2 separate regions of the Homo sapiens genome follow, and region 1 is linked to region 2. Evidence: promoter capture Hi-C in 16 types of primary human blood cells and fetal thymus (Javierre and others, 2016). All regions are on one chromosome and are shown on one strand. Each heading gives the region's core, a stretch centred on a gene start or on the middle of the fragment in contact. The rest is flanking DNA. Distances are from core to core; before and after follow the strand shown. Region 1 has its middle 12 kb from the start of MIR4660. Region 2 holds the start of TNKS (tankyrase).

What was found. The method cuts DNA at HindIII sites, captures the fragments that hold promoters and counts their contacts. A CHiCAGO score of 5 or more calls a contact.
Region 1: a fragment that was not itself captured here is called in contact with the fragment with the promoter of TNKS in region 2 in 1 of 17 cell types (neutrophils); the score reaches 9.8 in neutrophils.

What each region holds. Positions count from the first base shown.
Region 1 is chr8:9,034,330-9,038,765 of GRCh38, forward strand. It overlaps a transcript of ERI1 not described here. Among named protein-coding and RNA genes, the nearest start is that of MIR4660, 12 kb to the right of the region's middle. The HindIII fragment of the contact is 824 bases long and covers 1,014-1,837 here.
Region 2 is chr8:9,553,020-9,557,358 of GRCh38, forward strand. TNKS (tankyrase) reads left to right here and starts at 2,893. Exons shown (of 27, transcript NM_003747.3): 1 at 2,893-3,593. The coding sequence starts at 2,921. RefSeq lists enhancers at 2,576-3,237, 3,238-3,897 and a silencer at 2,996-3,155. The HindIII fragment of the contact is 11,121 bases long and covers 251-4,339 here.

The DNA.
Region 1 (4,436 bases), core at 176-2,675, 520 kb before region 2:
ATGTGCTTCGCAGATACTATTTTGTTTTGTTTTGTTTTTTAACATACTGAAAGTTTGTGTGAATCCTGTGTGGAGAAAGTCTATTTATGTCATTTTCCCAACAGCATACTTTCACTTCATGTCTCATATTTTGGTAATTCTCCCTATATTTCAAACTTTTTGATTATTATTATCTCTCTTAGGGTGATTTGTAATCAGTGACTTTTGATGTTACTATCATGGTGGTTTTGGGGCACCACAGACCACACCCATATAAGACAACGAACTTAATTGATAAATGTCTGTGTTTTCCCCATCGCTCCCTCTCCAGACCTACCTATTCCCTGAGACACAATATTGAAATTAGGGCAATTAATAAGCCTACAGTGGCCTCTAAGTGTTCAGGTGAAAGGAAGAGTCACATGTCTTCCACTTTAAATCAAAAACTAGAAATGATTAATCTTAAAGAGGAAGGCATGTCAAAAGCTAAGACGGGCTGAAAGCTATGCCTTTTGATCCAAATTAGCAAAGTTGTAAACCCAAAGGAAAAGTTGTTGAAGGAAATTAAAAGTGCTGCTCCAGTGAGCACACAAGTGATAAGAAAGCAAAACAGCCTTATTACTGATATGGAGAAAGTTTTAGTGGTGTGGATAAAAAATCAAACTGCAACATTTCCTTAAGCCAAAGCCTAATCTAGAGCAAGACTGTAACTGTCTCATATTCTGTGAGGGTTGAGGGAGGTAAGGAAGCTGCAGAAGAAAAATTTGAAGCCAGCAGAGATTGGTCCATGAAATTTAAAGAAAGAAGCTGTCTCCATAAAACAGTGCAAGGTAAAGCAGCAAGTGCTGATGTAGAAATTATAGCAAGTTATCTAGCTAAGATCTAGCTAAGTTATCTAGCTAAGATCTAGCTAAGATAACTAATGAAGGTGGCCACACCATACAACAGGTTTTCAATGTAGATGAAATAGCCTATTCGAAGAAGATAACATCTAGGACTTTGATAGCTGGAGAGAAGTCAGTGCTTGGCTTCAAAGCTTCAAAGGACAGGCTGATTGTTGTTAAGGGCTAATGTAGCTGGTTTAAGTTGAAGTCAGTGTTCATTAACCATTCTGAAAATCCTAGGGCCCTTATGCTAAATCTACTCTGCCTGTGCTCTATAAAGGGAACGGCAAAGCCTGAATGACAGCACATCTGTTTACTACATCATTTACTGAATATTTGAAGCCTGCTGTTGAGACTTAGTGCTCAGGAAAAAAAAAAATCTGTTCAAAATATGACTGCTCATTGACAATGCATCTGGTCATCCAGGAGTTCTGATGGAGTTGTATAAGGAGATTAATGTTGGTTTTAATGCCTACAAACACAATATCCATTCCACAGCCCATGGATCAAGTAGTAGTTCTGGCTTTCAAGTCTTACTATTTAATAAATACATTTCATAAGGCTGTAGTTAGCATAGGTAGTGATTCGTCTGATGGATCTAGGCAAAGTCAGTTGAAAACCTTCTGGAAAGGATTCACCATTCTATTCTGAATGCCATTACAAGCATTTGTGATTCGTGAGAGGAGGTAAAGATATCAACCTTAACAGGAATTTGCAAGAAGTTGATTTCAGTCCTCATGGATGACTTTTAGGGGCCCAAGACTTCAGTGGAAGAAGTCACTGCTGATGTGGTGGAAATACCAAGAGAACTAGAAGTGAAGATGTGACTGAATTGCTGCAGCCTCATGATAAAACTTGAGGAATTACTTCTTACAGATAAGCAAAGAAAGTGATTTCTTGAGATGGAATCTATTCCTGGTGAAGATGCTGTAAACATTCTTGAAATGACAGCAAAGGATTTAGAATATTACATAAGCTTAATTGATAAACCAGTGGCGTGGTTTGAGAGGATTGCCTCTAATTTTGAAAGAAGGTCTGTGGATAGAATGCTATCAAACAGCATGATAAAGAGAAATCTTTTGTGAAAGCACAAATATCAGTTGATGGAGCAAACTTCATTGTTGTCTCATTTTGAGAAACTGCCACAGCCACTCCAATCTTCATCACCTACCACCCTGATCACTCAGTAGCCCTCAACGTTTGAGGCAAGATCCTACACCAGCAAAAAGATTATGGCTTGCTGAACACTCATGATTGTTACCTTTTTCTAGAAATTTAATCTTTAAGGTATATATGTATTTTTTAGACATAATGCTTTTGCACACTTCATAGACTATTGTTTAAATTTAACTTTTATATGCACTGGGGAGCCAAAACATTTGTGTGAGTTGCTTCATTGTGATACTCCCTTTATTGCAGTGGTCTGGAACTGAACCTGCAGTATCTCTGAGGTATGCCTGTATATAGTATGATCAAGAGCAAGTTTAGAATACAAGTCATTTTTTTTTTCTATTGAGTAAAAGAACAAAAGAGGAGCAAGGTTGTGATTTTCTGTTTGCTAATGTAGTGTGGCACACCATCACTGGTGATGGCAGATTGATGGAGGGCAGCGATTGAGCCTTCCCCTTGAAGTGTCCATTCTTGCTTGCCGACTCTGCACCTTTGAACATAGACCTGTTTTCCCTTTGGATTTATTTTTGTCAGTGGGACCATGATTATCACAGTCACATAGGATTGAAACCATGAAACTCATAGTCCCTCCCTCCCCCTTTTAGCACAATGTCCTTTATTGTCCAGTCACTTTATCCTCACCCCAGCCTCTGTTATCATCATTGCTACACAGACTATTGCTAAAATTTAACAGACTTCTCTCTTGCTGTCTCTTCCTGTATACCACTGTCATAAAAAACCTTCCTAAAATGTTGCTTTGCACACTGATCTCAGAAACCTTCACATTTCTGATGGGATAAAACTCAGCTCTCTGTTGGCATATAAGAACCTTCACAGTCTGATTTCTGTCTGCCAACTTTTACAGTAACCATCTGCTCTAGGGTAATAGTTACTCCCCTCACCATCACACTCGCGTTGAGTCGCATGTGCACCATCCTACTTCTGTCCCCAGGAAGTTAGCCCATCAGTCTTATTCTCTTGATTCTGTTTTGTTAAAGACCTGCTGTGATTTCAGCCTTCTTCCCAGACAGCCCGGACCTTTGGCAACAACTCCCTCTATTTGTTCATTGCACTTTTGTTACATTCATTGGGCCCTTCATTTGTGCTGCAGAGATTCATATGTACTGTATTGTTGGGTTTTTTTTTTTTCTGTTTCCCCAACAGGAGTGTAAATTATTCAGGCACAGGTTCTTACTTGTATCTCAAGAACCTAAGACACAATGGGTGCTTAGTTAAAAATAATTAGTGATGGTAAAATGTATCTTGTAAGGTTAGTACCTGTTCCTGAAATTGCAAAAGGTAGCGTAAGTCCTGACTGCCGTGATGAATGAGTTACTGTTTTGGCAGAGTTACAGATAGGAGCTATCCCCTTTCCTTTTACTGTGCACCATAAATAAATTTTTAGAGGCTCTGTCTCGAGTAGAAATGTTTAATCCCTGTCTATGCTTGACTTTCCCCCTAGGTGCCAGGAAAAGCAAACAAATGTTAAGCTGTCCTTCCTAGTAGTTCAGTCTGTACATTGCTGATTTAAAAAAAAAAAAAAAAAATCTGCTCCAAGTATCTTTGGCCTTGAAAAAGGTCATTGGTTGCCTTTCCTCTGTGTTGAGCACTGATTTTTCAAACTTTTTTGCACAAGTACTCCCTAATACTTGAAAAAAATTGTTTGAAAAGGAAACTGTACCTATTTGCACATTTAAAGCTATTCCTAAGTTCATAGTATAAATATTGACATTTAAAACAAAACAGGCTTCATTATATAATCAGTGGAGTCTCCATACCATAGAAATTTAGTACCATCATCTGCATAGAAAATACATAAAGGCTTTTAAAATTCCTCTTTCTCCTGGAACTTCTATTTTTGGTGCAGTTCTCCCACAAGGTTTTATTCTAATGTAATACAGTAGTCCCCTCTTATCCGTGGTTTTGCTTTCCATAGTTTCAGTTACCCAAGGTGCAGTAACAAGATATTTTGAGAGAGGGAGACACCACATTCACATCCAGTTTTCATGTTATAGCTTGTCATCAGGTTTTACTCTGTATTTTTCTGCCTGAAAGTCATTGATCATACTATCATACATCTTTGTAACAAGTGTATATACATTTAAAATTATATATGGCTGAGTGCAGTGGCACATGCCTGTAATCCTAACACTTTGGGAGGCTGAGGTGGGTGGATTGCTTGAGCTCAGTTCTGGACCAGCTTGGGCAACATGGTGAAACCCTGTTTCTACAAAAAATTCAAAACTTAGCTGGGCGTGGTGGCACAAGCCTGTAGTCCCATCTACTTGGGGGGCTGACTTGGGAGGATTGCTTGAGCCCAGCAGGTGGAGGCTACATTGCACGGAGATCTATTTATTGTGACCGTAAGGATGTGTGAAGTTTCTTCTATATTTACTCAGTCAT
Region 2 (4,339 bases), core at 1,643-4,142:
CAAAGGAAGTTGCGAGGGGAAAGCTATCAATAGTGGCTGTGAGTTCATGTTAACACTTTATGCATGCCATGTAAGAGAACGGATCTAACATTCAAAGAGTGCTTAAAAAACACCTAGGCTTTTAATCCTCATGACAGTGCTAAACTAAGGTCAACATTTTAGGCTGAGAGAGCTGAAGCATACCTATCAAGATTAGCCAACTAGTAATCATCAGAGATGTGACTTTCAAGCCCAGGTTTGTTTGACCCCAAGCTTTGCTCTTTCCACTATGATATAGTGCATTCCTCCTGGAATTGTGTTTAGCCACAGAAGATTAGGTAATAGCATGTGTCCTTTCATGTTTGGAGCTCAACATTAGTCGGTATAAACCCAAACTTCATAAATACTTAATGTTAAGTACTTTTCCTACTTTCTGCTCGAGGGGAAGAAAGCAATTTCCAGTTGATTGAATGCATTTCCAGACATGGTTTTCCAGTCCAGTTTCAGGCAATTTAGTTTTTTGTTTTTTGTTTGTTTGTTTGTTTTGCTGAGACAATGTTGCTCTGCCACCCAGGCTGGAGTGCAGTGGCACGATTTCGGCTCACTGCAACCTCTGCCTCCTGGGTTCAAGCCATCCTCCTGCCTCAGCCTCCGCAGTAGCTGGGATTACAGGCGCGCACCACCACGCCCAACTAATTTTTGTATTTTTAGTAGAGATGGGGTTTCCTCATGTTGGCCAGGCTGGTCTGGAACTCCTGACCTCGTGATCTGCCCACCTTGGCCTCCCAAAGTGCTGGGATTACAGGTGTGAGCTACTGGGCCTGGCCGGCAATTTAGTTTTTAAAAATCTCTGTCCAGCAGAGACTTCCTTATTTTATTGTTATTATTATTTTTTGTACTGATAGACACAACAGATGCATTTTGAATAAGTCTGAACATCACTACTTTCTATGAGTAACTGACCACTGGGAGACCAGATGAGATATTTCTTATGCCTCCCATTCCAGGAGGCCATTATTTAGGGGACACATGGTGTGTTATGGATATCTAACATATCATGTTGGATCACTCCCACTTCTCAATGGTTCTCTGCTGTACATCAAGAAGTTAAGATTAAAAAACAGAAGCATGAAGAAGAATGTTGTGGACTGATTTTAGTTGCACTGATGTGAGTTTTCCTATCCAGCTACACTTTTTGTCCGGTGTCTACTGCGAACAATGGCACATTTCATCACACAGCTGGATAATGTTAAGAATTATAATCTGTAACCCCAGATTAGATGAAAATAAATGCCACTCGTAATACTAATTATGTTCCTGACCTTATTGTATTTACTTACTAACCCCAAATAAACTCATCTATTTACTTAAATGGGAATATTAACATCACATAAATCATATTTAACAATGAACACATGAAACAATTTATCACCTAGTTTAATATTCTGCTTGACTCATCTAAATCTTGTTTCTCTTACAGAATTTCCATCTGTGTCCACTCTATTGGAATAATGCTGTTTCTGTATACTTCTACAATGCCTGCTTTACTATTGAACAGTAGGTATGAAATGGAGTCCTCAATGGGATTATCTCATTCATGGATACATCTTTTGATAGTAGAAAAACAAAAGTATACATAGGTTGGGGGAAAGACAGAAAAAGCAGTTGCTGAAAAATAGCACCTGATGGTGAGTAATGGACAGCAATCAGGTTTTTGTTATGTTTTCTTGTTGTTTTTGTGACAGGGTCTCCGCCCTCTGTCACCCAGGCTGGAGTGCAGTGGTGTGACCTCGGCTCACAGCAACCTCTGCCTCCCGGGCTCAAGTGATCCTCCCAACAGACTCCTGAGTAGCTGGGACTACACGCATGTGCCACTTTGCCCAGCTAATCTGTGTATTTTTTGTAGAGATGGAGCTTCGCCGTGATGGCCAGGCTGATCTTGAACTCCCGGGCTCAAGTGGCCCGCCGGCCTCGGCCTCCCAAAGTGCTAGGATTACAGGCATGAGCCACCGTGACCAGCCTAGCAATCAGGTTTTTATCTGTTTCGGGTGTGGGAGAGGCTAAGCTAAGCCAGAATTCAAAAGAAAGGAATATATTCATAATTAGTTACACTTAGGGTGAAAAATAAAATTTCAGAGAGAGCAGAATAGGAAAAAAAAATCATAATTTTAATAATTCACACTTATTGCACTATTGTTATTTCAATTTTACAGAGAAAAACAGGCATAGAGTGATGAAATAGCAAGTACATATATAAACAACAAATGGCAGAGCTGGAACGCCAATCCTAGCAATCTGAACCAGCATTTAAAAACGAGGAATTAAAGCACATAGGGTGAGAAAAATTATAGGGAAGGGACAAGAGCTCAAGGGGACACCTGGAAAAGAAATACTATAATTTAAAAAATTACCAACGGGCTAATTATACTTGTGTTTTACTGGCAGAGCGCTTTGTCTGTTAGCTCTTTTAATCCCGCTAATAATTCTGTGAGGTTGGTACTATAAGTTCCATTTTTCAGACAAGGACGCTTAATAGATGATAACGGACACATTCCCTGCTTGCTCTGATCTGCATCTCAACAGCTGGCTCTGGAGCAAGCAAAGGGAGACTAAGGGAAACAGAGCGGAGCAGGGCAAAGAAAGCCGACTGAAAGTGAGAAATGCAGGAAATGTTTCCCATCTAGGCAGAAGCTGGTTCCAGCATTCAAATCTCTCCAGCCGGCCCGCCACCACGTCACAAAGCCCGCCTCTCAGTGACAAAGCCCCGCCCCGTTCCCTTGGCTGTTCTCTGAGCTCCCAATACTTCCCTCCTTCTCTTTGGCCCCTGCTACCCCGCCTAGCATCATTTCCTGTGCGCTGGATGCTGATTGGTCCGACAGTCGGAAGTGAGGGCGGGCGGTGGGGGCCGTTGCCGCAGTGACAGTGCTAGGGGAGTCCGAAGATGGCGGCGTCGCGTCGCTCTCAGCATCATCACCACCATCATCAACAACAGCTCCAGCCCGCCCCAGGGGCTTCAGCGCCGCCGCCGCCACCTCCTCCCCCACTCAGCCCTGGCCTGGCCCCGGGGACCACCCCAGCCTCTCCCACGGCCAGCGGCCTGGCCCCCTTCGCCTCCCCGCGGCACGGCCTAGCGCTGCCGGAGGGGGATGGCAGTCGGGATCCGCCCGACAGGCCCCGATCCCCGGACCCGGTTGACGGTACCAGCTGTTGCAGTACCACCAGCACAATCTGTACCGTCGCCGCCGCTCCCGTGGTCCCAGCGGTTTCTACTTCATCTGCCGCTGGGGTCGCTCCCAACCCAGCCGGCAGTGGCAGTAACAATTCACCGTCGTCCTCTTCTTCCCCGACTTCTTCCTCATCTTCCTCTCCATCCTCCCCTGGATCGAGCTTGGCGGAGAGCCCCGAGGCGGCCGGAGTTAGCAGCACAGCACCACTGGGGCCTGGGGCAGCAGGACCTGGGACAGGGGTCCCAGCAGTGAGCGGGGCCCTACGGGAACTGCTGGAGGCCTGTCGCAATGGGGACGTGTCCCGGGTAAAGAGGCTGGTGGACGCGGCAAACGTAAATGCAAAGGACATGGCCGGCCGGAAGTCTTCTCCCCTGCACTTCGCTGCAGGTCAGAGACTTTTGAATTGTTTATTAAGGGTTATGGGTTTGGGTGCAGGGTCCGGTTAGGACAAGAAAACAGGTTATTGTGATGGGACAAAGTGGGGGCGTGGTTATGGTTCTTCATCACCTCACCAGAAGACTGGAGGTTCCTTTCTTTTGGTGGTGCCTGGGTGATGGGGGCGTGGTTGGGGGGGATAAGTGAATCCAAGGAATTCTTCAGTGGTTGCACAGTACTCATTACAAAACTCACTGTAGTTGGTAGTCTCTGCATATGGATATATTTACACTTTAGTTTTTGGTGTGCAGGAATACAGTTAGATTTGGACAGCTTTAGAGTAGTTTTGTCGTTTGTGTGCTAGTTTATTTTGTTTTTACAAGGGTATGTCCTTTGAGGACAGTCCAGACCAAAAGAGGTTTAATACAACCCAACACATGTTTGAGGATCTATTGTAGCCTTAATAACCCAATGAAAGACATAAATGAAGTGTTTGAAAGTTTCCCTTCTTCTAAAGAAGTTTGCAGTCTAGACGGGGAGACCAAAATATGCCAATGTGAAACAACTGGAGAAGAATATTTGGATGCATTATATGATGATGGAAGAAATATAGGCTTTGATGTTGTGGCCACTATTATTTGTTGTCTAGCAGACCATTTACCTCGTGTCAGTTGCCTCAGTTTTCTCATGGGCAAAAATCATAAAATGATGTTGTGCGAGCATTTGGTGAGAAGTATCTGGCACAAAGTTCTCCCTCA